Regions from separate parts of the Homo sapiens genome. Here regions 2, 3, 4, 5, 6 and 7 are each linked to region 1. Evidence: promoter capture Hi-C in 16 types of primary human blood cells and fetal thymus (Javierre and others, 2016). All regions are on one chromosome and are shown on one strand. Each heading gives the region's core, a stretch centred on a gene start or on the middle of the fragment in contact. The rest is flanking DNA. Distances are from core to core; before and after follow the strand shown. Region 1 holds the start of HADH (hydroxyacyl-CoA dehydrogenase). Region 2 has its middle 2.4 kb from the start of PLA2G12A. Region 3 holds the start of CASP6 (caspase 6). Region 4 overlaps TBCK (TBC1 domain containing kinase). Region 5 holds the start of MCUB (mitochondrial calcium uniporter dominant negative subunit beta). Region 6 overlaps SEC24B (SEC24 homolog B, COPII component). Region 7 overlaps SEC24B (SEC24 homolog B, COPII component).

Region 1 (4,065 bases), core at 913-3,412:
GCCCCTCTGCCTTTTAATGCAACACAACATCCATTTTTGGCCAATGATGGATGCAGCATTCAAAGAACTAAGCACTCTGATTTTCTACAAAAGTTGAAGTGACGCTTTCTACTTAGTTTCTAATCTTTTTCCACTGCTGTCTTCAAGGACACCAGCCACAAGTTTCTGGATCCATTTCCCATAATGTTCCTGGAGGCTGCTTAAGGCCCTAATATTTTGTTACTAAGATGTTGTTAAAATGTTTCTAAAAAACACATTGTTCTATTCCTGCTCACAACAAATCTCACTCTCACAGCCTTGGGAGATTTGGGTGGAGCCTGGGAATACAAACGTACTCAAACTAAACTTTCTCTTGAGTATAACCTGTGGAACTTTTAGGTTAAAGGGAGTTACTCCTCCCAGTCCACATACAACATAGATTATGGGGATACTATAACCTAGCAGCCAGGGGATCCACACAATAAAAAGGGCAATGTATGTCCAAAATTATGGTCTCAGAGGAAATGGGAGACTGTAAGAAGTCATATAAATAAAACATTACAGGGATATAGCTTTTAGAAGAAAATGCAATCAAATAAAAACGTTGTAAAAAACTTGCCAAGGAGAAGAAAATTGAGATATATAATACCTAATAGTAAAAGGTTTTTTTGTTTTTGTTTTTAAAAAGCAAGCATGAAAGCGTGGACTTGGTTGGAAACAAGACATTGAAAAAGTAAACTCTCTCATGACTGTAGCCACAGTAGTACTGTCCCCAAGAAAAATTAGATGACTATAACCGCCTTCCCCAACAAACCAAGTTGCAAAGGACTGAAATGCTAAGAATATAATCAGCTAGGATACGAAAACCATGGTTCTCCAATGTGAGCTGAAATGGAATAATTTTTAAAAAAAAAAAGTACAAGCATTACAGTAGCCAGGTAATCAATCACTCGCACAACTGAGCCTGAACCACAGCTCAGCAGAACAATGGAAAAGCCCTGAAGATGTACAATGGATAAAAGACTTGTTCCGGCTGGGTGCAGTGGCTAACGCCTGTAATCCCAGCACTTCGGGAGGCCAGGCGGGCGGATCACCTTTGGTCAGGAGTTCGAGATCAGCCTGACCCACAAGGTGAAACCCTGTCTCTACTAAAAATATAAAATTAGCCGGGCGGGGCGCCTGTAATCCCAGCTACTCGGGAGGCTGAGGCAGGAGAATCGCTTGAACCCGGGAGGCGGAGGTTGCAGTGAACCGAGATCGCGCCATTGCACTCCACTCCAGCCTGGGTCAAAGAGACTCCGACTCAAAAAAAAAAAAAAAAAAAAAAAGAGAGAGACTTATTCCGCTGCAGCGCCAAAATCGCAAGCTCAGAACTCTGCACAGACGGCACTATTTCAAAGGTCAAAACCAGGACCTCAGCAATCTTCCATTAGGTGACTTTACAAAGTGCTACAAAAGTCATGACTACTACTATTCTTTACAACCTAGCAAGCGAAGGAAAGACCGGGGAGAGCCGGGAGGCCGTTTAGGAGAGAAAACTACTTTGACAAAGACTGCACAATTACAGAATAAAAATCAAAAATAACTGATAGAATTAAAACTGATCGCAGTTCATGTCTTTGGCAGCAAACTCCCGTTTGAGCCGAGCAGGAACAAACGCGTTATGCCTGAACCTTGTGCACATACAATTCTTTCTTCTCTTGCACGGCCCGCTTCCAAAATGCATTCACCGCCACTCTCCATGGAACCTTCAGCGGGCCCTGGGGGCAGCCAGAATTTTCCAAACGAGGAAGCTGAGGATCGGCCCAGAACCCTGAATTTTGAGGGGAGTGAGACTTGGGCCCTCACAGGCCCAGACGCGAGATATTTCAACTACACCCGGGAGGCGCGGGGTGAAAACTCCCTGGTGTCGGGCGGGTGCAGGCCCCTCGCGGCCGGTCGCGCCAGAGCTTCCACCTCAGGGTGGGCGGCCAAGCGCGTGGGCACGCTGCAGGGAGGGCCGCTCACCTGGGCAATGCCGGCGCCCATCAGCCCGCCGCCGATGACCGTCACGTGCTTGACGATTATCTTCTTGGCCGAGGCCGAGGCGGTGGACGAGGAGGACACGGAACGCATGAACTGCCTGGTGACGAAGGCCATGGTGTGGCAGCGGCGGCGACAGCGAGGAGACCCGGGCAGGGAAGACGCGCGAGGCGGGCAGCCGCGGAAAGCCAGACTCTGGGGGCGGGGACCTACGCGGCCCTGCAGCCCGCGCGCCCCCGGCGTCCCCGTGACGCCACAAGGCGGGGGCGGGGCCTCGAGTCCCGCTCTGCCCATTGGCCCTGGCTGTAACGTCCCAGCGTTGAGCGGGTATACACGCGCGGGCTCGCAGCTGTCAGCAGCCGGAGCCCGAGTGAGCGCGGGCTTGAGACCTGCTGAGCAGCGGGACCTGGCGGCTGGCGTTCTGGTGTGGGGCCGAGAACAGACCCTTCTTCTGAAAAGCCACTGGCCCCTTGTTCTATGAAGTGAGTGGTGTTGACTCTGTAAAATGCTATCCTTTGATGACATGTGCATATCTAGGCTCTGAAGAAATATGTGCTGCTTGGCTGTGTTGGTAATGGACCCAAAATGTGCACCGTTGGTTGATGTCACCAAATAATCAACTCGGGATTATTTTAATCCCGTGGACAGTGATTGTTTCCCCTAAAAGGGAAATAAATGTAGACTGCGAACACCCAAAACAAATGTCTAGTGACCATGAGTTACAATGCAAAAATCAGGCTCAGGGAAGGTAAAGAGAGAGTTGACCTTTAGTTACCCATCTTGACGTTGGACGTCTATCAGTGCAGTGAACATGTGGACGGTTTAAGGTCATAGAGCAACCTTTCTGGAATAACGAATACTATTAGAAAGCATAGGAAAGAAATGTCTTGTCAAATAATGGAAGACTGGATAGCAGCTTGGCCAATCTTCTCACTCAGGTGAATACTTTCTAATTACTGTAACTTAGTGATATAGGATTCTTATTAATTTATTTGCTTTATGTTTAAATATTGTTAACAAAAAAACTTCAAACAAGTTTAGCAGAGTTTATCTGAGCAAAGAAAGCATGAATCATGTAGTATCCTGAGCCAGTAAAGGTTCAGAGAGCTCCAGCCCCTAACAGTGGGCAAGCCGCGTTTATAGACAATATTTTTTGCAGCCTGTAATGGGCTAAAAGCTCCGCTGCGGTGATTGGCCAAGACTTGGCCACTTGTTAGAAGAACGTACTCTCAAATTACATTGCAGTTTATTTACATATTAGGTTTGATTATGCTTTGCTAGGTAGGGAGGCAACTTTAGGCCAGATTTAATTTAATAACAGTTTCCTCCTTTGGGTCAGCCTCTCAGTTTTACGAGATTGACCAGAACCTTGTTTTGTCTCAGTATGGAAGTCACAATGTCAAATTAGTTGAGTGATTATACTTTCTTCATGTTGTTATTCTAACTGTAATAACACCATTTGGTGTACAAAGGATGGCTGCATAGAGACATTGAAGACTCTCGAGGGGACAACAACACATCAGGGAGACTATTATGGCCACGAGAAGGAGTATAGCAATAAACTGAGGTACACACCTTAACAGGAGTCTCCACAAACTGAACTGATCAAAATTAAACAATTCAAAGTTCAGGCAATAAAGATAGTTCAAAGTATTTGAGTCCAATTGGTCATGGTCTAATTTAGGGCATTATGGCGGTTAAGGACTGCTAGAAATGCTTATTTCTTGGTGCCGTAAAGAAATAGCACTTGAACATAAAATTAATTTCTTTAGCAAGGCCATTTTTACTTTCTGCGGAAAGAGTACACTCGCCAGCAGTTTTGCCACAAGAGTACACCGAACAAAGGAGGCAGGGTCATTTATAACCTGACCCGTCCACCTTACTGTTGTGACTGGTTTCCATTGGCTAGAACGGGACTTCACATTCTGTATTTGTCTTGATTGGCTAGCAACTTAGAAATTCTTAAAAGAGGCAAAGGCAGAGGAGAACAAAGGAAGGAGGAAGTAACTTGTGGAATGCTGAGAAGGGAAAAACACCTCTAAATAAGGAAGAGGAACAGGCTAT
Region 2 (4,065 bases), core at 1,142-3,641, 1.7 Mb before region 1:
ATCGCCATTTCTAATTCTTTTCTTCCTCTGACTACAACTGTGTTTTCTCCCTAGTACTTCAATGAGACTCTTGTGAAGTTCACCAATAACCCCCAAGTTACTAAATCTAGTAGTCAATATCCGGCCCTCACCTTCCTCATATCAGCAGAATGGGTGGTTCTGTCTTTCTTTGACACACCAGAATATAGCACTTTTCCACTTCTGCTGCACTTGGCTGCTCCTTCTTAAGCGCCTTTGTTCTTTTTTCCTTGACCTCCTAAGACTTAGACCTTGCTCTGCTTCTTTGTGTACACTCACTTTTTAGAGGATCTCATTTAGTCCCATGTTATTTATTTATTCATTTATTTAAGACAGGGTCTTGCTCTGTTGCCAGGCTGGAGTGCAATAGCGCAATCTTGGCTCTCTGCAACCTCTGCATTCCGGACTCAAAGGATCCTCTTACCTCAGCTTCCCAAGTAGCTGGGACTACAGGCATGTACCACCATGCCTGGCTAATTTTTGTATTTTTTTTATAGAGATAAGGTTTTGCTATGTTACCCAGGCTGCTCTTGAACTCCTGGACTCAGGCGATCTGCCAGCCTTGATCTCCCTAGGTGCTGGGACTACAAGCATGAGTCACTGCGCCCAGCTAAGCCCCATGACTTTAAAAGCCATTTCTATTCTGACAACTTCCCAATGCGTTTCTAACCTTTATGCTGAACTGCAGACTCAGAATAAGCTTCTTGGATATGGTATGACTGAAATTTATTTTTAAAATTTTCCCGCAAAACCCTCTCCTTCCACAATTCTCCCCATTTCTGACAGTTAGAACTCTCTCTATCCTGTGGCTTAGGCCAAAATTTCAATGCCATCCTTGATTCCTCTTTTTCTCTCATATTCAGTCCATCAGCAAATCCCTTCTGCTCTACCATCAAGTTACATCTAGAATATGACCACTTTTCACACCTCCACTGCTCCTTTCCTGGACCAAGCCATACTTATGCCATACCTAGATTACTGTATCATAACTGACTTCCTATCTTCAGCTTCTGCCCACCACAAAGTATATATAGACAAGCTAGCCACTCTCTAGCAGGAAAGACCTGGAACACAGCTGTGGATTTGCAACTAATGATGTCTGTCATGAAAATAACAGGTTTTGCTGGTTAGATGAAAGTGTCCTGTAAAGAAGGCTCTTTTCAAACAGTTTATGCCAAAATTTGGGAAGAAAAGATGGAAGTGGGTCATCTAGAAGTTACGTGAGATGAGCTGGGCACAGTGGCTCATGTTGTAATCCCAGCACTTTGGGAGGCCAAGGCAGGGGAATGACTTGAGGTCAGGAGTTCGAGACCAGCCTGGCCAACTTGGTGAAACCCCATTGCTACTAAAAATACAAAAAATTAGTCAGGTGTGGTGGCGGGCACCTGTAATCCCAGCTACTCGGGAGGCTGAGGCAGGAAAATAGCTTGAACCTGGGAGGCGGAGGTTGCAGTGAGCTGAGATTGTGCCACTGTACTCCAGCCTGGGCAACAGAGCCAGACTCAAAAAAAAAAAATTTATATGATATGGTAAATCAGAGCATGCATCCTGTGTAGTGGCACAAGGCCCCACAGTCAAAAGGGCTCTGTACTTATTTTAATGCTCTGCTGTTATCACCTTGAAATTCTTTTTTTTTTTTTTTTGAGACAGAGTCTTGCTCTGTGGCCTCGGCTGGAGTGCAGTGGCACGATCTTGGCTCATTGCAAGCTCTGCCTCCCGGGTTCACGCCATTCACCTGCCTCAGCCTCCCGAGTAGCTGGGACTACAGGTGCCCGCCACCATGCCCAGCTAACTTTTTGTATTTTTAGTAGAGACAGGGTTTCACCGTGTTAGCCAGGATGGTCTCGATCTCCTGACCTCGTGATCTGCCCATCTCAGCCTCCCAAAGTGCTGGGATTACAGGCGTGAGCCACCGCACCCGGCCATCACCTTGAAATTCTTAATTTTTGAGCAAGGGGCTCTGTATTTTTATTTTGCACTGAGCCCTACAAATTATACAGATAGTCTGTGGTCAGTGCAGATCCCTGGTATTTAACAGCATCAATTAAGAGGAAAACGTAAACCTTGTAATTACTGCAGCAGAACAACAAATATATAATGATTAAATGTGAAAAGAATGTGAAAATAAAACTTAGAGTCTTGTTTTCTACAAAAATGGTGGTGATTCTCATGGGGAAGACAGTGGAAAGATTTGCTTGAGAGAAAGAGAACAGCTGCATCAAGCCAGAAGAACTGGCATTTGAGAATTTAATCCCTAAGGAGAGATCAGACAAAGAAAACTACGTCTGATTCCTCAGAGTATAGGCTGTAGTTAAGGTGTAAGAAATTAGATGAGATCACAAAGAAGTAAATAAATAGAGAAAGTGGGGGAAAGGAGAGGCTTTGGGTCATAACTGAGGGCTGGAACTAGGTTATTTTATTACATTCTATCCTTTCTTTTGAAAGTCTTGTCCCTGGACTAGGGAGTTGTAAGAACCAAGCCTGGTTTAAGGATTCAGGTGGTGGTATCTCAGAGGTAATCTAGTCCAACTTTCATACTTTGGAGCTGAGAAACCAATGTTCCAGAAAGCTAAGACAATGATTCTAAGTTCCCTTTTTAAAATGTATTGAAATGTGTTGTCTAAAAATTAAAAAATAAAAATATCTGTGGTATTTTGTGAAGACAGAGGCCTTGGTTTGGAGTAGATACTGTCACATGACTTCTCACCTCGACTCTTTTATTGTAAAAGAGGAAGATAATAATACCTTCCAGGGAACATTCTTCCCCCTTCTCCATTGTGGTAGGAATTAATCACTGCCCAAGACTCCTGGTTGAGGGGCTGAGTGAAGTGCAGGCAGTCTCCAGCCAGGAGCTACACCGTTTGTTGGGCTACCCTGTTTGTAGGGAGGAATGCCTTTCTATGTTTCTAACTTGCCCAAAGTCTGCATCCTTGTAAAGTAGTGTTCTGAATGTGAGCGATCATATTCATGAAGTGCCTGGCACATAGTAAGCACTCAATAAAGAGGGATGTAATTTTTATGAACTGTGCACTGAACGTTTATTATAAGCTCATTTAGTTTGTAACAAACACAAAAGGCCAAACCTAGAACTTATTGGTAATTCTTATAGAAAGGACACACCTATGCCCAATACTTACTCACTTTCTTTTTTTTTTAGAGTCTCGCTCTGTGCCCCAAGCTGGAGTGCAGTGGTGCAATCTCAGCTCACTGCAACATCCATCCACCTCCTGGGTTCAAGTGATTCTCCTGCCTCCGCCTCCCGAGTAGCTGGGATTACAGGTGCCCGCCACCACGCCCAGCTAATTTTCTGTATTTTTGGTAGAGATGGGGTTTCACCATGTCAGCCAGGCTGGTCTCGAACTTCTGACCTCAGGAGTTCCAGGCCTCCCAAGGTGCTGGGATTACAGGCGTAAACCACCGCGCTTGGTCTGCCCAATACTTTCAACATTGCTCTGGATCTTACTGTAAAATTCTTGGAAACTGCTGTGATACTAAGATAACCAGATATTTACAACTGATACAAAGTACTACTGCAATAGTTATTTATGGATCCCGCACAATGCTGGGGGCAGGGTGGTAGGTACAGAGAAACAAACGTCACTGTAACTATCAAGTTACAAAATCCCTTGAGTAGAAAAACAATGACTTCCTTAAGATTTATTTTACTTTTTACTGTATTTAAGTTTACACTACTGTTTCTTCCTTACCAGGGGAGAATTTTATGATTTTTATGTTGGCCCATTTTCTTTTTCCGGAAAGTCTAAACTAGCATTTAGCTCGTCCTGATTAGAGTCAGGCACCGCCAAGGCATGGGTTGGCATCTTCCAGATCCCGCTCCCCCAACCGCGGCCACAGCAGATCTGGAGGACCGGGAGAGGACGCAAGGAGGAAAAGCCCTGCTCTGCGAGCTGACAGCCGGACTCTGCCCACATTGCCAATGGAACCACGTCTTCAAGCCGGAAACTCAGCTGGACCTCTCGCAGCGCTCTCTGCGAGGGGGCACAGGGGTTATTTTCTCCGATGTTGTCCACACCCAGAAAAGCTTGT
Region 3 (4,065 bases), core at 466-2,965, 1.7 Mb before region 1:
TAAAGTCATCAGTTGTATTAGCCCCTAACAAGAGCATCAGCCTGTTCTTTGAAGCTTTGAAGACAGGCATTGACTTCTCTCTAGCTATGAAAGTCTTAGATGGAATCTTCTTCCAATAGAAGGCCGTTTCATATACATTTAAGATCTGTTGTTTTGGCTGGGCACGGTGGCTCACACCTGTAATCCCAGCACTTTGGGAGACCGAGGCGGGCAGATTGCTCAAGGTCAGGAGTTCAAGACCAGCCTGGCCAAACATGGTGAAACTCTGTCTCTACTAAAAATACAAAATTAACCTGGACATGGTGGCACATCCTGTAATCCCAGTTACTTGGGAGGCTGAGGCAGAAGAATCGTTTGAACCCAGGAGGCAGAGGTTGCAAAAGATCGCACCACTGTACTCCAGCCTTGGTGACAAAGCAAGACTGTCTCAAAAACAAAAGATTGTTGTTTAGTGTAGCTGCCTTTATCAATGATTTTAGCTAGATCTGGATAACCTGATGCAGCTTCTACGTTAGCACCTGCTGCTTCACCTTGCACTTTTATGTCATGAAGATAGTTTCTTTCCTTAAACCTCAGGAACCATCCTCTCTGCTAGCTTCCAGCTTTTCTTTTGCAATTCCCTCACCTCTCTCAGCCTCCATAGAATTGAAGAGTTAGGGCCTTGCTCTGGATTAGGCTTTGGCTTAAGGGAATGTTGTGGCTGTTTTTATCTTCTATCCAGACCAACTAGAACTTTCTCCATATCAGCAATAAGGCTGTTTAGCTTTATTGTCTTTTGTGTGTTTACTGGAGTAGCATTTTTAATTTCCTTCAAAATTTTTTCCTTTGCATTCATGACTTGGCTTTTCTCCTTTGCACTCACAACTTGGCTAACTGGAGCAAGAAGCCTAGCTTTCTGCCTACCAACATTACTTCCTCACTAACTTAATCATGTTTGCTTTTGATTTAAAGTGACAGGCTCTTCCTTTCATTTGGACACTTAGAGGCCTTTGTAGGATTATTAGTTGGCCTAATTTCAAAATTGTGTTTCCAGGAATAGGGAGGCCCCAGGAGGGGGAGAGAGAAGGGAAAGTTCGGTGGAACAGTCCAAACACATACAGGGCTTATGGATTAATTTCCCCTTCCTTTATGAGCGCGGTTCATGGTGCCCCAAAACAATTGCAATAATATTAAAGATTACTGATCACAGATCACAACAGCAGACATAATAACAATGAAAAATTTTGAAATATTGCGAGAGTACCAAAATGTGACACAGAGACACAAAGCGAGCCAATGTTGAAATACAGGCAGTATCTGCTAAGCGGTATAAAACAATCTATGCCTGTACCTCTAGAAAGTACAGGCATAGCAAAGTAAGGAATAGCAAATGTTTGGGGCAGCTGGGATTAAATGAGTCCGAGCTCACACAAGTGATGTGAAATTGCCTCGGGCTAGGCGGTCTGTGTGTCCCCCCGGGTGGCAACTGGCATGTCCCCAGGGCACGGTTAGTCCCAGCGGGCCTGGAGGCGAAGACCGCGTACCTCTCCCTGCCCCCGCGCTCTTGGTCCCCGCGGGCTCCGGAGCGACTGGGAGGAGCTTTAACTCTGGGAAGGACCAGCCCGATCCACGGGAGCCCGGGCGGCGCGCAATCAGAACCAACTGGCCCCACGCTCGGGGGCAGGGGGCGGGGCCGCCGAGGAAGGGCCGAGGGCGGGGCCGGGCCCGGGAGCCTGTGGCTTCAGGAAGAGGAGGGCAAGGTGTCTGGCTGCGCGTTTGGCTGCAATGAGCTCGGCCTCGGGGCTCCGCAGGGGGCACCCGGCAGGTAGGCAGGGGGCGTCGACTGGGCACCGAGCAGGTCTGCGTCTTGCTCCGGCTGGAGGGGAAACGAGGGTTAGTGGACCGGGCGCGCGGACCGGAGTGGGGCCGCGGGTTCCTTCGGCTTTGCAGGGCGGCCTGGAGAAGTTGCACTCTTGGATTGAAGCGCTCAGGGCGGGTGGGGACGGTTTCGCGCTTCAGTCTAAGAAACACTCGGGGACCTGGCTGCCGCCTCCTGGCGGTCCCGAGTAGCGACGCCGGCGCCGGGGCGTGCCCCTGCCGCCTTTGTCCTCCGGGGCGATGAGCGCTTTCGGGGCGCCCCGGCTGTTTAAACCTTAAAAGGCTGTCCCCACGCGGGCCTGGCGTTCCCCCACACCTGGCCGTTTGAAATGTTGGGGGTTGGATCTTTTGTTTGCTCACTTCGAAAAGTGAAAAGGAGGGGTTGTTCCGCCGAGTCATAATGAAAACATAACAGGCCCGCGGGGTGCCCGGGCCAAGACCCTGGGTCCTCCCGGGCTTCAGCTGGAGGCGGCCAGTTCCTGGCGGCCAGCACACCCCGGTATCTCTCTTCTTCATCCAGGAAACCTGCTGCTGTCTGTCGGTTTGAGCCAAAACCACAATAACTTTTTTCTGCAAAGTAATCAACTGCTAAGAGCGTACGTTCTGTCACTTATTACTGGTAAAGTTTAGAAACTTCAAGCCTGGCCAGAGTGAAACAAACAAAAAGGTCGAAACGCCTGCAGTTGGCCGGCCGTGGTGGCTCACGCCTTGTAATCCCAACACTTTGGGAGGCCGAGGCGGGCGGATCACCAGAGGTCGGGAGTTCTCGACCAGCCTAACTAACACGGTGAAACCCCGTCTCTACTAAAAATACAAAAAAATTAGCCAGGCCTGGGCGCAAGCTACTGGGGAGGCTGAGACAAGAGAATCGTTTGAACCCTGGAGGTGGAGGTTGCAGTGAGCCGAGATCGCCCCACTGCACTCCAACCTCGGCGACAGAGTGAGACTTCGAATCAAGAAGAAAAAAAAAAAAAAAGAACGAAACGCCTGCAGTTGGTTAGAGTGCCTTTGTTTAAGAACTCTTTATATTTTGCTGCACAAAGGAAATGGTGCTCCAGAGGCAAGCTGTAAAAGTCACATGGTCGTAGAGGAGGTAGATAGGTAGCCTTGTCCTGGAGGCACAGTGCAGGGTCCAGTTGCAGTCTCTAGGGGCGGGAAGCCGGGGCTTTCCTTCACTCACCTGCTCCCTTCCTCTTCTTCCTCCACCGCACTCCCCAGTGCATGTTCTAGGCCTGATGGAGGTTACTCTACATAGGGTTACTAAATACATTGTTGATGGAGCCGATGGGTAGATTTTCATAGAGAGTGCAGTGAATGAAGACGATGACAGTAGAATGACCGAAGTCGTTTGGGAAGTTGAACAAAGTTTAGAAAGGTAGCCGGTCTCGGGTGGGAGGGGCTGCGTGGGGATGGGCCTACAGAGACTTTGGAATCTGTAGGTGGGCTGGCTTTCAATCCCAGCTTCACTTTGCCGACCTTGGCACGCCTGGCCCACTTTCTCTGTCCCTGTTCCTGAGCTGTGGAGCTGTGAGATAAGGTATCTAAGGCATCAGGCCATCAACAAATGGTAGCTGGCAGGATTATCTGGAGGGACTATCAAATTAGAGTGAGGTGAAAAAAGGAATGATTAGTTTTGTAAAACCTAAGCTGATTTAAGGAATAAGGAGGTGGCAGTTACATTATCCTGCAAAGGAAGAGAAGTGAAAAGAGGGCCAGACACAGTGGTGGGCGCCTCTAGTCCCAGCTACTGGGGAGACTGAGGCAGGAGAATCGCTTGAAACCTGGAGGTGGACTTGCAGTGAGCCAAGATTGCGCCACTGCACTGCAGCCTGGGCGACAGAGGGAGGCTCTGTCTCAAAAAAAAAAAGTGAAAAGAGGTCAAGAATCAGGTTTAAAGAAGGGCACATTTTTGATAAGTAGATTGCAGATGAAAAGGAATTTCTATATCTGTTATACAGGGTAGCTCCTTCATTAAAATTTATTTTCTCCATATCAATAAAGCTATTTCTTACTTTATCCAGGTTTTTAAATATTAACGCAGGCCGGGCGTGGTGGCTCATGCTTGTAATCCCAGCACTTCCAGGAGGCTGAGGCAGGTGGATCACTTGAGGCCAGGAGTTCAAGACCAGCCAGGACAACATAGCAAAACCCTGTCTCTACTGAAAATACAAAAAAAAAGTAGCTGGGTGTGGTGGCGCATGCCTGTAA
Region 4 (4,065 bases), core at 407-2,906, 1.7 Mb after region 1:
AGATCTGAGAATCAGGATTTTTAATTTTCTTTTTCAGGGAAACCGTCTATTCTTAAACATATTTCTTTATCTATATGAAGGAAATGAAGTTCTAATGTTAGGAACTTTAGAAGAATTATCTAACAATATATTTTATGATTGAAAGTAATGATTTTGGCAACTGTCTTCAAATGAAAAGGGAGTCAGTAGATTTTTTTTTTTAAACTCCATTAGTCTTTTTATATAGCAGCCCATTTAGAGAACTGAATTAGAAAAGTTGAACCCTATTGGTTAAAAAGTCAGTGTTTGAGGAAGATGTTTACTGCGTTTTTAGTAGTGTAATCAGGTTCTTTCATTCTCCACTTAAAGATTCTTATGGTGGCAATATTTTTAATTATTTCAGAATTATTTTTGGAAGCTTAATTGCAGGGTAAGGTTGCATTTCTTAAAAATATTTTAAATGCATTTCAGTGAAATGTATTTAATTTTTCTAACATAAAATAATTTGTAGACGTAAAAAAATCTGAAAGTAAACCCTATGTAGTTGGTGATATTCAACTTTTTCCCTATAAAAGTGGCAATTTTATGTGTTTCAACCTAATATTAAAAACCCTGATAAATGCAAACAATGTTTTCTTTACTGTTTTGCTGAAAATAGACTAAACTGTACTTTCAAGTTCCCTGGTTTATTTCTCTTAAAATATTTACTCTGAGAATATTTGTGTTTTATAGACTGAGTAGAAATTTTTTTTGTAATGATAATTATTAATCGTTAAAATTTATTGAGCGTTTATATAAGGCAATATTCTTAGTGTTTTACATATTTTAATTACATATTTTAATTAACTTAATCCTTGTAACATTACTGTGTGAAAGGAACTAGTCCTGTCATTTTACAGATAAGAAAATTAAACCACAGAGCAATTAAGTCAAGGTTCACAATTAATTCATCCAAGGGCACACGAAGGAAATTAAGGAAAAATGGACTGCTAATACATTTTATTATTTTTTGAAAGATTGTACATGTTGCTGTAAGTGTATAATAATGCAAATATTGACAGAATTCTAATCAGAGCTATTCCGTACCATAAATACTGTTGAGCTCTACCACATACCTAGTGCTGTAAATAGTTAGATGTTGTCAGGAGGCTTCGTGAGAGATTTGGGAAAGAGAGTGGTAAAAAAAGTTAATTGTCTAGCAGATGATAAAAAAAAATTTGTTTTTTCATATTGACATATAGGTATATACACACAGACATGTTAAAGTATACATTATTTTATTGAGACTTCTTTTACTGTTCAAGGTTGACTTTGATTGATTGATTCTGCAAATATTAGTAAATGCCTGTCATGTTTGGCTTAATCCCTCAAGCAAGAGCATGGGTGGTGCCATGTTGAGGCCTTAAGGGTCTCTCTCTGTAGGGAACAAATTGGGAAGTCAGAGCTGATAGAAACCTAGCTTTGAAGCAAAAGTAATAAAGGTGCTGATGAGTTGAAGATTTATTTAGGAACCTGTCTTTCTTGTCCACTGCTTTGACAAACATGTACACTGGGGTTATAATACCTTGGTAACCCTTGACTGATACTATGGCCCTCCTTCTGCTAGATGCCAAATATACAAAAATGAGTAACTCATTACCCCAGGTCCCAAGTCAGCTTCAGAAACAGTAGAGAAAAATACAACCATGATAATATTAAATAATACAGTAATAGTTGTTATAATAGGTGATGTACAATGTGCTATGCTATGCTATGGAAGTACAAAGAAGAGAATGTTAATTTTGCGTTGAAGAATATCAAGGCCAAGCATGGTGGCCCATGCCTATAATCCTAGCACTTTGGCATGCTGAGGCAGGAAGATTGCTTGAGGCCAGGAGTTTGAGACCAGCTTGGGCAATGTAATAAGATTCTGTCTCTACCAAAAAAAAAAAAAAAAAAAAAAAAAAAATTAGCCAGGCATGGTGTCTTGTTCCTGTAGTCCTAGCTATTCAGGAGGCTGAGGCAGGAGGATCATTTGTGACAAGGAGTTTGGGGCTGCAGTGAGTTATGATCATGTTACAGGAAAGGGTCCCAATCCAGACCCCCAAGAGAAGGTTCTTGGATCTTGTGCGGCAAGGAATTCAGGGCAAGTCCATAGAGTAAAGTGAAAACAAGTTTGTTAGGAAAGTGAAGGAATAAAAGAAAGGCTACTCCATAGCCAGAGTAGCCCCAAGGGCTGCTGGTTGTCCATTTTTATGGTTATTTTTTGATTATATGCTAAACAATGAGTGGATTATTCATGCGTCCCCTTTTCAGACCGTATAAGGTCACTTCCTGACGTTGCCTTGGAATTTGTAAACTGGTAGGAGTGTAGCAGTGAGGACAACCAGAGGTCATTCTAGTGGCCATTTTGGTTTTGATGGGTTTTAGCTAGCTTCTTCACTGCATCCTGTTTTATCAGCAAGGTCTTTATGACCTGTATCTTGTGCTGACCTCCTATCTCATCCTGTGACTAAGAATGCCTTAACCTCTTAGGAATGCAGCCCAGTAGGTCTCAGCCTCACTTTACCCAGCCCCTATTCAAGATGGAGTTGCTCTGGTTCACACGCCTCTGACAGTCATGCCACTGCACTCCAGCCTGGGTGACAGAGCTAGACCCTGTCTCTAAAGATAAGAAATAATAAAAAATATATATATATTAATCAAACTCATATATAAAAGGTTTTGGTGGGATAAAGGACTTTAGACCACAGAGCAATGGCTCTTCTGTCTGTTATGTTTTATTTGCTTACATTCATTCATTTTGATGATGCTGGTAGTCTCAAAAATTAATGGATTTTCAAAAGATGTTGGCCTTTTATTGTTGACATATTTCTAGGAAACAAAGTCTTAATATCATTATTAATTATTCTTAATTTAAAAAGACATTTATGTCTCTTGATTAATTACAAGCTTACTTTTTTCAAAAATAATTTGAGACAAGATGCAGACATTCATACAGTATTTTATATATAGTACATGAAAGAAAAATAATCAAGGTGAAGATGTAAAAAAGGAAAAAAAACTTTCTCTACTCTCTGATGCTTAATGGTAGGTCCCAGGAATCAAACTGATAAAAGGCTGGTTAACAGGAGAAAAAAACAAACAAACCCAGATTTAATCTATAGGCACAGATTTCACAAAGAAATGCAACTCATGGAGGTAGTTAGAATTGAGGCTTATATACCATCTTCACAAAGGGAAATAAAGTATAGAGAAGAGGGTAGACAAAGGAAGAGGGGTTTGGGATTTGAGAAAGTGACTCAGAAATGCATGGTAAATAAGAATTACTTAGTAAGTTTGTTATGTAGATAAGAGTCATTTTCCTCTTCCTAGTGTAGGAGAGGATAATTTCCAAATGGAATTTATCAAATGGAAATTCCTTTCATCTTTACAGAGGGAGATTTATGTTCTGCTTAGACAGAAATGGAGAGAGAAGAGAGCTAATTGCCTTCACTCAAAATCCTTATGTCAAAGTGGGATATTTTGAGATGGCATATTCTGATTTTCTTCAGGGAGAAAGGAAACAGAATAAGATTTGAGGTTAGTAATATTAATATTTTTTTAGTTGGACTATAAATTTGGTTGTATACTTCTTATAGGCCAGGGCAAAGAAGTAAATCTAACTGCTTCAAATTATTTTTATAATGAGGCAGCTTATTAAGAAATTAATTTCTAGATACTTAAACGTGGAAAAAATATCAATTTAAAGCTTTATAATGTTTGTACAATCTGTTGTCTAGATGAACTATGGAGACTATGGTATAGAAATTTATTTGGTATGAGGATCTGAGATCTCTGATCTGATCTTATGTCTGTTGTTATGGGTTTGCTTTATTGTTCTTTTTGGTGTTAATCTCTGAACTGGGAAGTCTCTGTAGCTTTTTGTCCCCCACCTTTTTTTGTGTGAGGGAGGTACACTGAAGAATGAAGAGGTTCATAAACTTAGAAAGGAGAGCTTTATTTATCATAAGGGTTATAGCCTGCAGGGTGACCACTGTGACAGGCTGGGAAGCATAGCCTTTTGTGAGAAGCTTGAAACAGATACTTTGAGGGAGGGGCAAAGGG
Region 5 (4,065 bases), core at 854-3,353, 1.6 Mb before region 1:
GACAGTTGGCTTAAAACAAAAATTTGCAAATTAGAAACATTCAAACATAACGCTTCTTACGATGATTCCTAACTACTGTTTCCCTGTTATTAGGCCTAATAAGCCCGATGGTACCATTTTCTTTTAAAAGGGTATCCACATTCCTGCTGAGGTATGCAATGGCACCACCCTAGACAGCATCAGATGGGAAATATGGAGAAAAGGATTTGCAGGTGATAATTTGAGAAAGGGCAGCCAGTCCCGGGATCCACAAAAATGCTACTCAACGTGTTAAATGGACTTAATAGAAAACACTTGGGGCTGGTCGCGGTGGCTCACCCCTGTAATCCCAGCACTTTGCGGGGCTGAGACGGGCGGATCACAACGTCAGGAGTTCGAGACCAGCCAGTCTGGCCAACATGGTGAAACCCCGTCTCTACTAAAAATACAAAAATTAGCCGGGTGCGGTGGCGCGCGCCGGTCATCCTATTTTCTGGGGAGGCTGAGGTAGGAGAATCGCTTGAACCCAGGAGGCGGAAGTTGCAGTGAGCCGAGATCGCACAACTGCACTCCAGCCTGGGTAACAGAGCAAGACTCCGTCTCCAAAAACAACAACAAAAAACAATAATCTGTGTTTAAAATGGCATGTGAAAGGGGTTCCTCGTATTGGGTTGTTTTAATGTTTGGTATCTCTTTGACTACACAATGCAACACTTACAGTAAAAGTACAACCTTTAAAAGTATAAAAAGCCCATCTCCCCAATGACTTTATAAGTCTACCATTTTACATTTTAAGGAGTTTGCCCCTGTTCTTACATTTAGTAACAACATGGCCTTCCTCATTCTCTTTCAAACATTCCTGGAATTGATTTTCTGAATGCACTTAATCCTTTGGTCACAAGCTCAATGAAAAGGAAAAAAAAATGCACTTAAATATTCCCTGCATCAATTGAAACTGAAGCCCTCAGACAGCTGGAGGAAAAGGGGGGGAAGGAAAAAAAAGAACAAAATAAACAGGAAGTGAAAGTGACAAGAGAATCACACTGCTTACTTTTTGGCTTTTAAGCCTTTAACAATCTGAAAGTAATCTTAACAGTGTGGGGGAGGAACAAACGAAAACTCAGAAACAGCTCCCTCCCCAACCACACACACCCTGAAGGCTTTGGCTGTCTTTCCTCATCTGGGTCAGAGTTTGCACTCCCGGGCTCCTGTCAGGCTCCATCGCAATCCTCCTTAAACTCAGCGCTTTCCCCTTCTTCTAGTCTTTTTTGGTGCACATCCACTCTCTACTCCTCCAAGCCACGGTTCTCCACAGACCACAATACAACGGTGTCAGGCCAACTGTTACTCACCAGCACACTCATGATTCACCCGTCTCTCGGGTGTCTGAACAAAACGCGAGTTTTTCTTCCTTCTGGGAAAGGGAGGTGCTCGCAGATTTCAGGATGGAAATTTCACTCTCCTGCGACCGTCCACACCCGGGACGGTCACTGCCCCGTTCATCGTTTCCGGGCTCCTTAGGGGCTCGGGCACTGATCACCAAGAGGGAACCGGCCCCGCGGCGCAGCGGCTTTGGAAACTTGCTCCTGACCGAGAGCTGCAGCCCAGAAACTGCCTCCCAGGTTATTCTGCTGCTCCCAGGCCGAAGTCTGGTGGTCCCCGCACCCTATCTCGGCCCGGGTGAGGCACCCCCAGCCGCAGCGCTCTGGCTTCACCTTCCCCGGGCCCGGAGTCTTGACCTCAGCCCAGGCCTCCGTGACCCACGTCGGCCGCCCGGCCACCACCTGTCGGGACCGCCCGGCGCGCGGAGCCCGGCAGCCAGCAAAACGCAGTTGACTGCTCGGCCGCTCGGCTTTTGCTCCCGCCAAAGTTGTCCAACGCAAACTTTGCACCAGCCTACCCCGAACCCCCACAGCCCGGCACCCGCTCTTACCTGGGGCGGAGGCGGCAGCGGCCACGGGCGCGCTGGGCGCCAGGTGCCAGGGGTCGGCAGCAGCCGCGTGCGCCACGGCCAGAGGCCCCTCTGGAGCATCCTCCCGCCCCAGGCGCGCGGCTCCCGCAGGCGTCAGCGGCGCATCCTCCCTCAGCCGGGCTCCTCGTCAGCGCCTGGTGGCTCCGAGCTGTGGGCGCTCCCGCCCCGCCTGCTCGCTCAGCGCGCCGCGGCTCCAGCTTGGGCGGGCTCACGGGAGGGTGTGTCCCTGTTTCCACTTGTCGGCTCTCTACGCATCCGGGCGCAGGGCTGTTTTCTTTCCTCCGACCAAAAAAAAAAAAAAAAAAGAGAGCGAGAGAGCGGGAGCCCGAGAGCGGGAGCCCGAGGTCGAGGGCCCCCTCCTTCTCCAGCAGAAGACCCTCTGGAATGAACAGCAGCAGGCGACGCACACCTTGCGAGCTCTAGATTTCAAAACTCGCTGTTAATTCCCGGTGCTGCGTGCTCTGAGCGCCGTCTTCGCCATCCAACCCAGACGGGGATGAGACGAAAACAGCGTCCGGCATCTGGAGGGGGCAGGGCCGCTCAGGAAGTTTGTTTTCCCCACCGAGCTTGGAGAAGACGGATTGAAGCGGGTCGGCCGAGGCCTCTCCCACCTCCACAACCTCCAAGGCCTCTGCCCCGGGCTGCGGTGCCGGGCCCCTGCTCGCTGGCGAGTGCGGTGTGAGGCGGGCAGCCCGGGCCTACCCCTGCGGAGGTTTGTAGTTCACGGTATAGGGGCCCAAACCCGAGTTTTTTGGGAAAGTATCTCCCACAGAATTGGCTTCTCTTTTGAAGCACGTTTTTAATTGAAGAAGCTTCGGAACCGGTATTGAGTTCTTCTAACTACTGGGAAATCGGATGCTTTGTTTTGAGACTACTTATTTTTGAAAGCAAACCAAAGGCATTAAAGAGCAACCTAAACCAATTACAGTAGGGTTGTTAGATAAAATATAGGATGCCCAGTTAAACTTGAATTTTAGATACAAATAGTGAAGTATGTCCCAAATATTGCATGGGTCACATTTATTATTTTAAAAATGAAATATCTGGGATATACTAAATTATTTGGTGTTTATCTGAATTCAAATTTAACTGGGCACTCCGCATTTTTATCTCCTGAATCTGCAAGAGGGTTCAGTTAATGAATCAAAATTGGCAAACCTGCAATAAGTGGCAAATCACTCCTGGCGGTAATCTCCTTTCCTTATTGAAAAGGGAAAGAATCACAAGTTTCTACTATAGTAAAAACTTTATCACTATTAAAGGCTGATTCACCTGTGTTAACTAGCATGTCTTTCAAAATACAGTTGCCCCAGATGGAGAGTGACACATGAAACTTTAAGTTCATATGGGAAGGTAAATTACCTTACCTGAATCTTTTCCTCCTATTAGCTAGTGCTCCAAGTGAAAGAAGCGTGTATTTTTGTTTTTTTGTTGTGAAGGGTTCTTGTTTAATACAACTGAAAAGAATGCCTATACAAAGAATTGACATGAAAAAGCATTGATTCAACACTCATGAGCTAGGTTCTGAAAGGTGTAAAAAAATTACCTGAACATTTTTAGAAATTGGAAACTACAACTAAAACTGATAAAAATCCCTATTAACATTTGTGAAGAATCTTGATAATGTGTCCTGAATTGGTGGGTTCTTGGTCTCACTGACTTCAAGAATGAAGCCGCGGACCCTGGTGGTGAGTGTTACAGTTCTTAAAGGTAGCGTGTCCGGAGTTTGTTCTTTCTGATGTTCGGACATGTTTGGAGTTTCTTCCTCCTGGTGGGTTCAGTGGTTTCGCTGGCTTCAGGAGTGAAGCTGCAGACCTTGGCAGTGAGTGTTACAGCTCTTAAGGTGGCGCGTCCGGAGTTGTTCATTCCTCCCAGTGGGTTCGGGTCTCACTGGCCTCAGAAATGAAGCTGCAAACCTTCACGGTGAGTGTTACAGATCATAAAGGCAGTGCAGACCCAAAGAGTGAGCAGCAGCAAGATTTATTGCAAACAACAAAAGAACAAAGCTTCTAGAGCGTGGCACGGGACCCAGACAGGTTGCCACTGCTGGCTCTGGCAGCCTGCTTTTATTCCCCCATCTGGCCCCACCCACATCCTGCTGATTGGTCCATTTT
Region 6 (4,065 bases), core at 1,126-3,625, 1.5 Mb before region 1:
GGGTAAAGGATGGCTCATTATACTGTTTTCTTTGGAGTACGTGTGAAAACTGCTGTTATATAAAGTTGAAATAGGCCAGGTGCAGTGGCTCATGCCTGTAATCCCAGCACTTTTGGGAAGCCAAGGTAGGTGGATTGCTCGGGCCCAGGAGTTTGAGACCAGTCTGAGCAACATGGTAAAACCTTGTCTCTAGCTTGGGTGACAGAGTGAAACTCTGTCTCAAGTAAAAATTAAGTACATAAATAAGTAAAGTTAAAATAAAAGAATATATTAAATCTTTTCTTAAAAATATGCTAACTGGAGCCAGGAGCAGTAGCTCACGCCTGTAATCTCAGCACTTTGGGAGGCTGAGGCCGGTGGATTACGAGGTCAGGAGATCAAGACCATTCTGGCTAACATGGTGAAACCCCGTCTCTACTTAAAAATACAAAAAATTAGCCGGGCGTGGTGGCGGGAGCCTGTAGTCCTAGCTACTCGGAAGGCTGAGGCAGGAGAATGTCGTGAACCCGGGAGGCAGAGCTTGCAGTGAGCCGGGATGGTGCCACTGCACTCCAGCCTGGATGACAGAGCGTGACTCCATCTCAAAAATAAATAAATAAATAAATAAAAATGTGCTAACCAAGGGCCATATGAATCATATGGCAAAACTTAAAAGATTATTTCTTGCTTTACCACTTCAATTAGATTAAGATTCCTAAGGACCCAATATGGAGTGGGAAAATAATAAATCATAAAGAAGGTAGGGCTTGAGAGTAAAAGTGATCAAGATAAAGTTTATTACAGTTAATACAGAAACAAACATGAAAATGGTAGTTAGGTGGGCATATGCCAAATTAGACACAAAAGAACACAAAAATTACAAAAATAAAGATGAGCCAGGCGCCAAAAATTTAATGCACATCGCTTACTCCTTTTCACTAGCAGCAGTTTAAGTTTTGCGGACAACAAGGATTAGAGTTGTAGCTACAGAAGATATAGTTTTTTGAGTTTGTTTGTTTGTTTTTGAGACGGAGTCTTCCCCTGTTGCCCAGGCTGGTGTGCCATGGCACAATCTTGGCTCACTGCAACCTCCCCCTCCCACGTTCAAGCAATTCTCGGCCTCAGCCTCCCTAGCAGCTGGGATTACAGGCGTGCACCACCACGCCCAGCTAATTTTTGTATTTTAAGTAGAGACAGGGTTTCACCATGTTGGCCAGGCTGGTCTTAAATTCTTGACCTCAGGTGATCCACCCACCTCAGCCTCCGCAAGTGCTGGGATTACAGACGTGAGCCACCACACCCAGCCAATACAGTTTTTATAAATATGTTAAAAAGAGAAGATATGATAACGAAGATGAGCAAACCTTAGGGCCAGTAATTCGTTTTTGAAGTGAAAAGAAGAATGAGATCTTACAGTTCATATAATTAAAGAAGAGACAGAATTTTCTAATTGCAACAGAAGAAAAAATTAGAAGTCCATATCCACTTATCTTGGTATCTTGGTGAAAAAACTTAAGTTTTGGGCAAAAATGTGCATTTCTCTGTTTTGAGAGTCTTAAATGTTAAATGGTAAAAGGGTATCTATATCCATTCCATGCAAGGAAATCAAAATGGCAACAAGTCATAGATGCTAGTGCCCATCATAAGACAGAACTAACATTTCTTATTCATAGAAAGCCTTCTAGGAGATCGAATAACCTTTAGAAAGATTTTCTCTTTGTTAAATATAAACTTCCAGCATTAATTTGTTTTTAAAAATTATGAGTATAAACAACTTCAAAATCTCGATAAGAGTTCACTTAACAGAAAATTACAAATGACCAATGTAATTGTGTTCCATAACAAATCTTAACACTGAATAGTTACCATGTAATCTGAAGAAGCAATGAACTCCACAGTTGAATTCTGAACTTCTGGTCGTTTATGAGGCTCTCCATAAGATCGGGTAAGGGGGTTATACATAAATTCTTCAGGAACTAGATAAGAGGTCCCAGTACAAATTTAGAGACACAATTTGTAACTAAACACATATATACACACCTAAAAATAAATATCTATTATCAATATTTACACGAGGTTTAGCAACAGTTCTGCGAACATTTAATGGTAAAAATCAATCCCTTAAGCCCTCCTTAAAAAATAGATCAGGGCGGTGGCTCACGCCTGCAATCCCAGCACTTTGGGCGGCCGCGGCGGGCGGATCACGAGGTCAGGAGTTTGAGAACAGCCTGACCAACATGGTGAAACCTCGTCTCTACTAAAAAAACAAAAATTAGCCAGGCATAGTGGTGTGCGCCTGTAATCCCAGCTACTCAGGAGGCTGAGGCAGGAGAATTGCTTGAACCTGGGAGGCAGAGGTTGCAGTGAGCTGAGATTACACCACTGCACTCCAGCCTAGGCGACAGAGTGAGACTCTGTCTCCGAAAAAAAAAAAAAATAATAATCAGGGGGCCAGGCGCAGTGGCTCACACCTATAATCCCAGCATTTTGGGAGGCTGAGGCGGGGAAGATCACGAGGTCAGGAGTTCGAGACCAGCCTGGCCAATATGGTAAAACCCCATCTCTACTAAAAATACAAAAATTAGCCAGACATGGTGGCAGACACCTGTAGTCCCAGCTACTCGGGAGGCTGAGGCAGAAGAATTGCTTGAACCCGGGAGGTGGAGGTTGCAGTGAGCTGAGATCGCACCACTGCACTCCAACCTGGGTGACAGAGTGAGACTCCATCTCCAAAAAAAAAAAAAAAAAAAAGATCAGGCTTAGGTGCAGTGGCTCATGTCTGTAATCCCAGCTCTTGGGTTGGGAGGCTGAGGTGGATGGATCATTTGAGCCCAGGAGTTCAGGATTAGCCTGGCCAACATAGCGAGACCCCATTTCTACCAAAAATACAAAAATTAGCCAGGTGTGGTGGTGCAAGCCTGTAGTCTCAGCTACTTGGGAGGCTGAGGCATGAGAAAAACTTATAGCTTGAACCTGGAAAGCAGAGATTGCAGTGAGCCATATTGTGCAACTGCACTCCAGCCTGGGTGACAGAGCGAGACCCTGTCTCAAAAAAAAAATTAAAAAAAAAAAATAGATCAGAAGGATAAAAAAACTTATGTTCTGAAATCAGGTGAGAAAACCAGGATGCAAGTAACCTTCCTTCTTAGACTTGTATCCTATTTATTATATCAAATGACATGGAAAAAAATCAGACAGAGAAACATAAATTTGAAAGCAACTCTAGTAGGGGAACCCGAAGAAATGAATAAAGGGAACAAGAGACAGACATATATACATGCATGCATCCAGATACACTGGCAAAGTTCTACCTGAGTTGAATGAACCAAATATACAAATGTAAGACAATCTTACTGTCAGGGACAAGCATAACTAGTCTGCATAAGCTCACCTGCATGAGTGTCACTGTTTCTATTTTTCTTACTTTGTCCTCACTGTTACTCTCCTCATTGTCAATTATCCCCTTGGTCAGCCAAAATGAAGAATCCCTAGTCCTAGCCTTAGCCTATATTCCCTCTACTAAAAATGGCATGAAAATTCTTTTTAAAGCAATGAAGAGAGAAACCAGGAGATGACAAAAATCTCAAAAAAAAAAACCTGAAAATAGGATTAAAACACAATTAAGAATCTAAAACTCACCATCGTTTACTCTATAGCACAAATTGCATTTCCATCTACGTTGATCAATGAAGGATACAAAGGGGTTAATATACGTTCGACAGGATCGGCACCTCACAATGGTATTTGATGTTATCACTGGTAATTGCTAGGAAATAAAATAAAGAAGCTGTAGCAGAAAAAGGCACCCCAAGGAAAAACAGAACGTACACAGATCTGCTCCAAATACAGAACATAAACCTTAATTGTTTTTATGTGGTTTTATATGGAAGCATATTAATAAAATCCAGGGACATGTTGAGCAACACATGTAGCCATCAAGTTTTCTCCCTCTTGTCACAAATCATAACACTAAAATAAAGTCATAACAAACATTGGCCAAGAAAATAATGTAAGTGAGATCTTATCAGTTTAACTTTAGAAATAACAGTGAGAGAGAAACATACCATATACAAATACCTTTGTCTT
Region 7 (4,065 bases), core at 434-2,933, 1.5 Mb before region 1:
AACTTAATCACTGCTGCAAAGGTTTCAGGGATTAGGACATGGACATAGCTGGGGAACCCATTATTCAGCCTACCACATCAGGTATCAATGGCAGATTCTCACACAACTATATTATGATTTCACTTTATGGAAAGCAAGTTTAGAATTCCACTGATTCTAAAATGCACCCCAATTTCAGAGGTAAAAAATGTAAAAAAAAAAAAAAAAAGCATCTTAGAATAAATTAATTTGATTATTGCACTCCCCAAATTGCCCAATACAATGCCTTACATAAGCATCAAATAATCACTGAAAAACTAAAACAGGCTGGGTGCGGTGGCTCACACCTGTGATCCCAGCACTTTGGGAGGCTGAGGCAGGGGGATTGCTTGAGTCCAGGAGTTTGAGACCAGCCCAGGCAACATAGTAAGACTTCATCTCTACAAACATGAAATAAAAAATTACGCAGGTGTGGTGGTTTGTGCCTGTAGTCCCAGTAACTTGGGAGGCTGAGGTGCTAGGCTTGCTTCAGCCCAGGAGATTGAGGCCGCAGTGAGCCAAGATTGCACCACTGCACTCCAGCCTGGGTGACAGAGTGAGACCCTGTCTCAAAAAAATAAATAAAATAAAATAATAAAAATAACAGGCTGGGTGCCGTGGCTCACGCCTGTAATCCCAGCACTTTGGGAGGCTGAGACGGGCGGATCACGAGGTCAGATCGAGACCATCCTGGCTAACACAGTGAAACACCATCTCTACTAAAAATCCAAAAAAAAAAAAAAAAAATTAGCTGGGCGTGGTGGCGGGCGCCTGTTGTCCCAGCTGCTTGGGAGGCTGAGGCAGGAGAATGGTGTGAAGCTGGGAGGCGGAGCTTGCAGTGAGCCGAGATTGCACCACTGCACTCCAGTCTGGGCGACAGAACAAGACTCCGTCTCAAAAAAAAAAAAAAAAAAACAAAGAAAGAAAGAAAAAACTAAAAAAATGGCCAGACGTGCTTGTAATCCCAGCACTTTGGGAGGCTGAGGCAGCAGACTGCTTGAGTCCAGGAGTTCAAGACCAGCCTGGACAACAGAGTGAAACTCCATCTCTACAAAAATTACATAAAATTAGATAGGTGTAGTGGCGCACACCTGTAGTCCCAGCTACTCAAGAGGCTGAGGTGGGAGGATCACCTGACCCCAGGAGATCGAGGTTGCAGTGAGCAGTGATCGCTCCAGCTTGGGTGACAGAGTGAGACCCTGTGTCAAAACAAAAACAAACAAAACAAAAAAATTCAGTTTTTATATAATCTCTGAAAGAATTTTATATTCTTAGCTTCAAGTGAACTATGTCAAATAAAAGAGGGAAACAGATGATTCTGACACATTATCTACTCACTGGTACCAATCTGAATGAAGAAATAAAATATTTTTAACAAATGGTCTATAATATTTTCAATGGAGCTGCTCAGCTGGTCAGCCTGACTGATATATCATGTGCCAGCAAGATACAGCCTATGATTTTCTATAAGCATGTATGCCCTCCTTAGCAGGACTAAATTATCACAAGATCTACCCCCAGGACATATCTGTCTCAGTAGCATAACCTCCTTTCAGACACCAGATTCTCACCAAAGGAAAACTGATTCTCTTGCTTTAAGAAAACCTAACATGAAAATTAAAATTTATAAAACAAATATTTCATGCAAGTCTAGTCCCTGTACCAAAAAAAAAAAAAAAAAAAAATCACAGGATCTCTTTAGGGCATATGAAATACGATTTGGTTTGAAAAATTCTCTACCTGACTTCCCTTTATTCTACTTTCACTTCCCTCTAATTCATTACTAACACCACCAGAGTACTTTTTAACATTCCTTACCACACAATCTTTAATGGCTCTTCTTTGATCCAAATGAAGTCTAAACTTCTTAGGACAATTTCTAGGAACTTCCATTAGCAGCCCCAACATAATTGTAAAAACTATTCTTTTTTTTTTTTTTTTTTGAGATGGAGTTTAGCTCTTGTTGCCCAGGCGATGGCATGATCACGGTTCACTGCAACCTCCACCTCCCGGGTTCCAACAATTCTCCAGCCACAGCCTCCCAAATAGCTGGGATTACATGCACTCGCCACTACACCCAGCTAGTTTTGTATTTTTAGTAGAGATGGGTTTTTACCACGTTGGCCAGGCTGGTCTCGAACTCCTGACCTCAGGTGATCCACCCACCTCAGCCTCCCAAAGTGCTGGGATTACAGGCATGAGCCACCACACCGGGCCCAAACCATTCTTTCATTACTCTCTCTCCCTTGTACCCCTGCACTGCTCAGAGTACGTTTTTTAAATTCCTTACCTTTGATTCATGCATTTTTACCTGACAATTCAAAATGTGTCCATCATTTTAGATATAGCTGAAGTTCTAACTTCCTCCCTTAAGATTCCCTATTACTTTAACCAAAAAGAATTGTTTCCTCTTCAAAACTCTGGGCACCCTTCTCACAGGCCTTATGAAGGAAACACATGTTCAGTGCTGACAGTCCTCTCCTCTTTTACTGAGGGGTACAGAACTCCTGGAGTGCAGAGAACATTCACATTTGTATGCCCAGAGTATCTAGCACAAAATGTTATGTAAAGAGGAGCTACATAAATATTTGCTAGGAATTGTAAATTAAATTTATAGGCCAGGCATGGTGGTTCATGCCTGTAATCCCAGCACTCTGGGAGGCAGAGGTTGGAGGGTCACTTGAGCCTAGGAGTTTGAGACCATCCCAGGCAACACAGTGAGATCTCGTCTCTAAAATAAAAGTTATATATAACTGTTAGGATTACATATGCATTGCATAAAATAAGGTTCAGGTGTTTAAGATCAAAATTGATGGTAAATGAGATAATCGGAGGGACAAAGTTCTTAAAAGAGAGGGAACAGAATTCTGTACCCAAATAATCTGAATTTGTCTCAGATAACACAAGAATAATATGCAGGAAGACTGACAGATTTGGTGGCAGAAGATTAATACTTTATCTTCAGATTGTCAGATTGCTTTCAATTTCTTAGTAAAATAAGTAAGGTCACCATTGGAAAGGGAGGCAGAGAGACAGGATACTGAGAATTTGAGGGAAAAGGGGAGCATGTGACACTGGGAATGGAGCAGGGAAATACCACAGGACTAACTGGTACTGAGAGCTCACTTAAGAGATATTACCATAAATATAAAGTTGGAGAAACTTCAAGGAAAATAAAGCATCAACATTGGATTATTCTAATATTACAATACAGCCATTTTATAGGGAAAAAAACATTTGACATAAAAAGGTTACCAAACCTAGTAAAAATGTGCAAAATTGATAAATGAGTAATATAAACATACAGGAAAACACAAAAATAAAGCAAGTTACCTGAATAAGATTGTAACAGTCATGATTTCCACCATACTACAATTATTGTTTAAAAAGAAAAAAATGAAGAGAGAAAACAAAAACCACATCTCTAATTTGACTACTCCTGAGATTTCCATAATAGCATGATCATTCCCCCTCCCTGAGACACATTTTAATATTAAAAATAGTTGTTTCATTAATATTTTCCTGAATTGAATTCCAACTTTTTTTTTCAGTCAGATCAAAGTCAGATTTCAGTTTCCATTATCTGAACACAAACATCAAGGTCAGCAAAGTACAAGTTCCTTTATCCTACTAAGATAAATTCATACTAACTTTGAGGTAGAATCAGATCGAAGAATGTAATCACTGAATTCATTCATCACTCAATTACAAAGAAATAGGCCAATATTCAGTCAGTATGCACCCAGGTATTCATTTTAACAATTATCTTTGTTAAAATGTTAAAATAGCTCTGAATCAGTTGGTAATGAGTCATAGCCATGGTCCTATTCCCCTGCTTTACCCCACCATGCTAGCCCAAACCTTCTCATAATCCGCAGCTGAAGGAGTAATGCCTGGCACAGCTGAAAGCTTATAGGATCCTGCTCTGGTATGAAGGATGGTATCCATTTAGTGGTCAGTATACACAGTACTGATTACTGAATATTTTAATATACTCTCCCTGCCAATAAGGTATCACTAACAATGCCAAAATACAGATTTTTAATG

What was found. The method cuts DNA at HindIII sites, captures the fragments that hold promoters and counts their contacts. A CHiCAGO score of 5 or more calls a contact.
Region 2: a contact is called between a fragment that was not itself captured here and the fragment with the promoter of HADH in region 1, in 2 of 17 cell types (non-activated CD4 T cells and naive CD4 T cells). The highest score is 5.5, in non-activated CD4 T cells.
Region 3: a contact is called between the fragment with the promoter of CASP6 here and the fragment with the promoter of HADH in region 1, in 5 of 17 cell types (activated CD4 T cells, total CD4 T cells, fetal thymus and 2 more). The highest score is 10.8, in activated CD4 T cells.
Region 4: a fragment that was not itself captured here is called in contact with the fragment with the promoter of HADH in region 1 in 1 of 17 cell types (total B cells); the score reaches 6.9 in total B cells.
Region 5: the fragment with the promoter of MCUB here is called in contact with the fragment with the promoter of HADH in region 1 in 6 of 17 cell types (activated CD4 T cells, naive CD4 T cells, non-activated CD4 T cells and 3 more); the score reaches 11.4 in activated CD4 T cells.
Region 6: a fragment that was not itself captured here is called in contact with the fragment with the promoter of HADH in region 1 in 1 of 17 cell types (naive CD8 T cells); the score reaches 6.4 in naive CD8 T cells.
Region 7: a contact is called between a fragment that was not itself captured here and the fragment with the promoter of HADH in region 1, in 1 of 17 cell types (total B cells). The highest score is 6.4, in total B cells.

What each region holds. Positions count from the first base shown.
Region 1 is chr4:107,987,986-107,992,050 of GRCh38, reverse strand. It overlaps HADH (hydroxyacyl-CoA dehydrogenase), which reads right to left and starts at 2,162. Exons shown (of 8, transcript NM_005327.7): 1 at 1,987-2,162. The coding sequence starts at 2,118. RefSeq lists a silencer at 2,166-2,395. The HindIII fragment of the contact is 11,946 bases long and covers 1-4,065 here.
Region 2 is chr4:109,730,453-109,734,517 of GRCh38, reverse strand. It overlaps a transcript of CFI not described here. Among named protein-coding and RNA genes, the nearest start is that of PLA2G12A, 2.4 kb to the right of the region's middle. RefSeq lists an enhancer at 3,454-4,065. The HindIII fragment of the contact is 3,342 bases long and covers 721-4,062 here.
Region 3 is chr4:109,701,095-109,705,159 of GRCh38, reverse strand. It overlaps CASP6 (caspase 6), which reads left to right and starts at 1,715. Exons shown (of 7, transcript NM_001226.4): 1 at 1,715-1,804. The coding sequence starts at 1,765. RefSeq lists enhancers at 1,294-1,343, 2,234-2,293, 3,054-3,113 and silencers at 1,504-1,793, 1,944-2,053. The HindIII fragment of the contact is 4,197 bases long and covers 57-4,065 here.
Region 4 is chr4:106,304,099-106,308,163 of GRCh38, reverse strand. All of the region lies in intron 2 of TBCK (TBC1 domain containing kinase), which reads left to right. Among named protein-coding and RNA genes, the nearest start is that of TBCK, 10 kb to the left of the region's middle. The HindIII fragment of the contact is 2,513 bases long and covers 400-2,912 here.
Region 5 is chr4:109,558,284-109,562,348 of GRCh38, reverse strand. MCUB (mitochondrial calcium uniporter dominant negative subunit beta) reads right to left here and starts at 2,103. Exons shown (of 8, transcript NM_017918.5): 1 at 1,913-2,103. The coding sequence starts at 2,011. RefSeq lists an enhancer at 1,217-1,416 and a silencer at 1,837-2,156. The HindIII fragment of the contact is 4,460 bases long and covers 1-2,765 here.
Region 6 is chr4:109,511,637-109,515,701 of GRCh38, reverse strand. SEC24B (SEC24 homolog B, COPII component) reads right to left here. Exons shown (of 24, transcript NM_006323.5): 9 at 3,619-3,745; 10 at 1,846-1,955. Among named protein-coding and RNA genes, the nearest start is that of MIR576, 25 kb to the right of the region's middle. The HindIII fragment of the contact is 4,764 bases long and covers 1-4,065 here.
Region 7 is chr4:109,442,111-109,446,175 of GRCh38, reverse strand. The region is part of intron 1 of SEC24B (SEC24 homolog B, COPII component); the gene reads right to left. Among named protein-coding and RNA genes, the nearest start is that of SEC24B-AS1, 10 kb to the right of the region's middle. The HindIII fragment of the contact is 4,493 bases long and covers 1-3,929 here.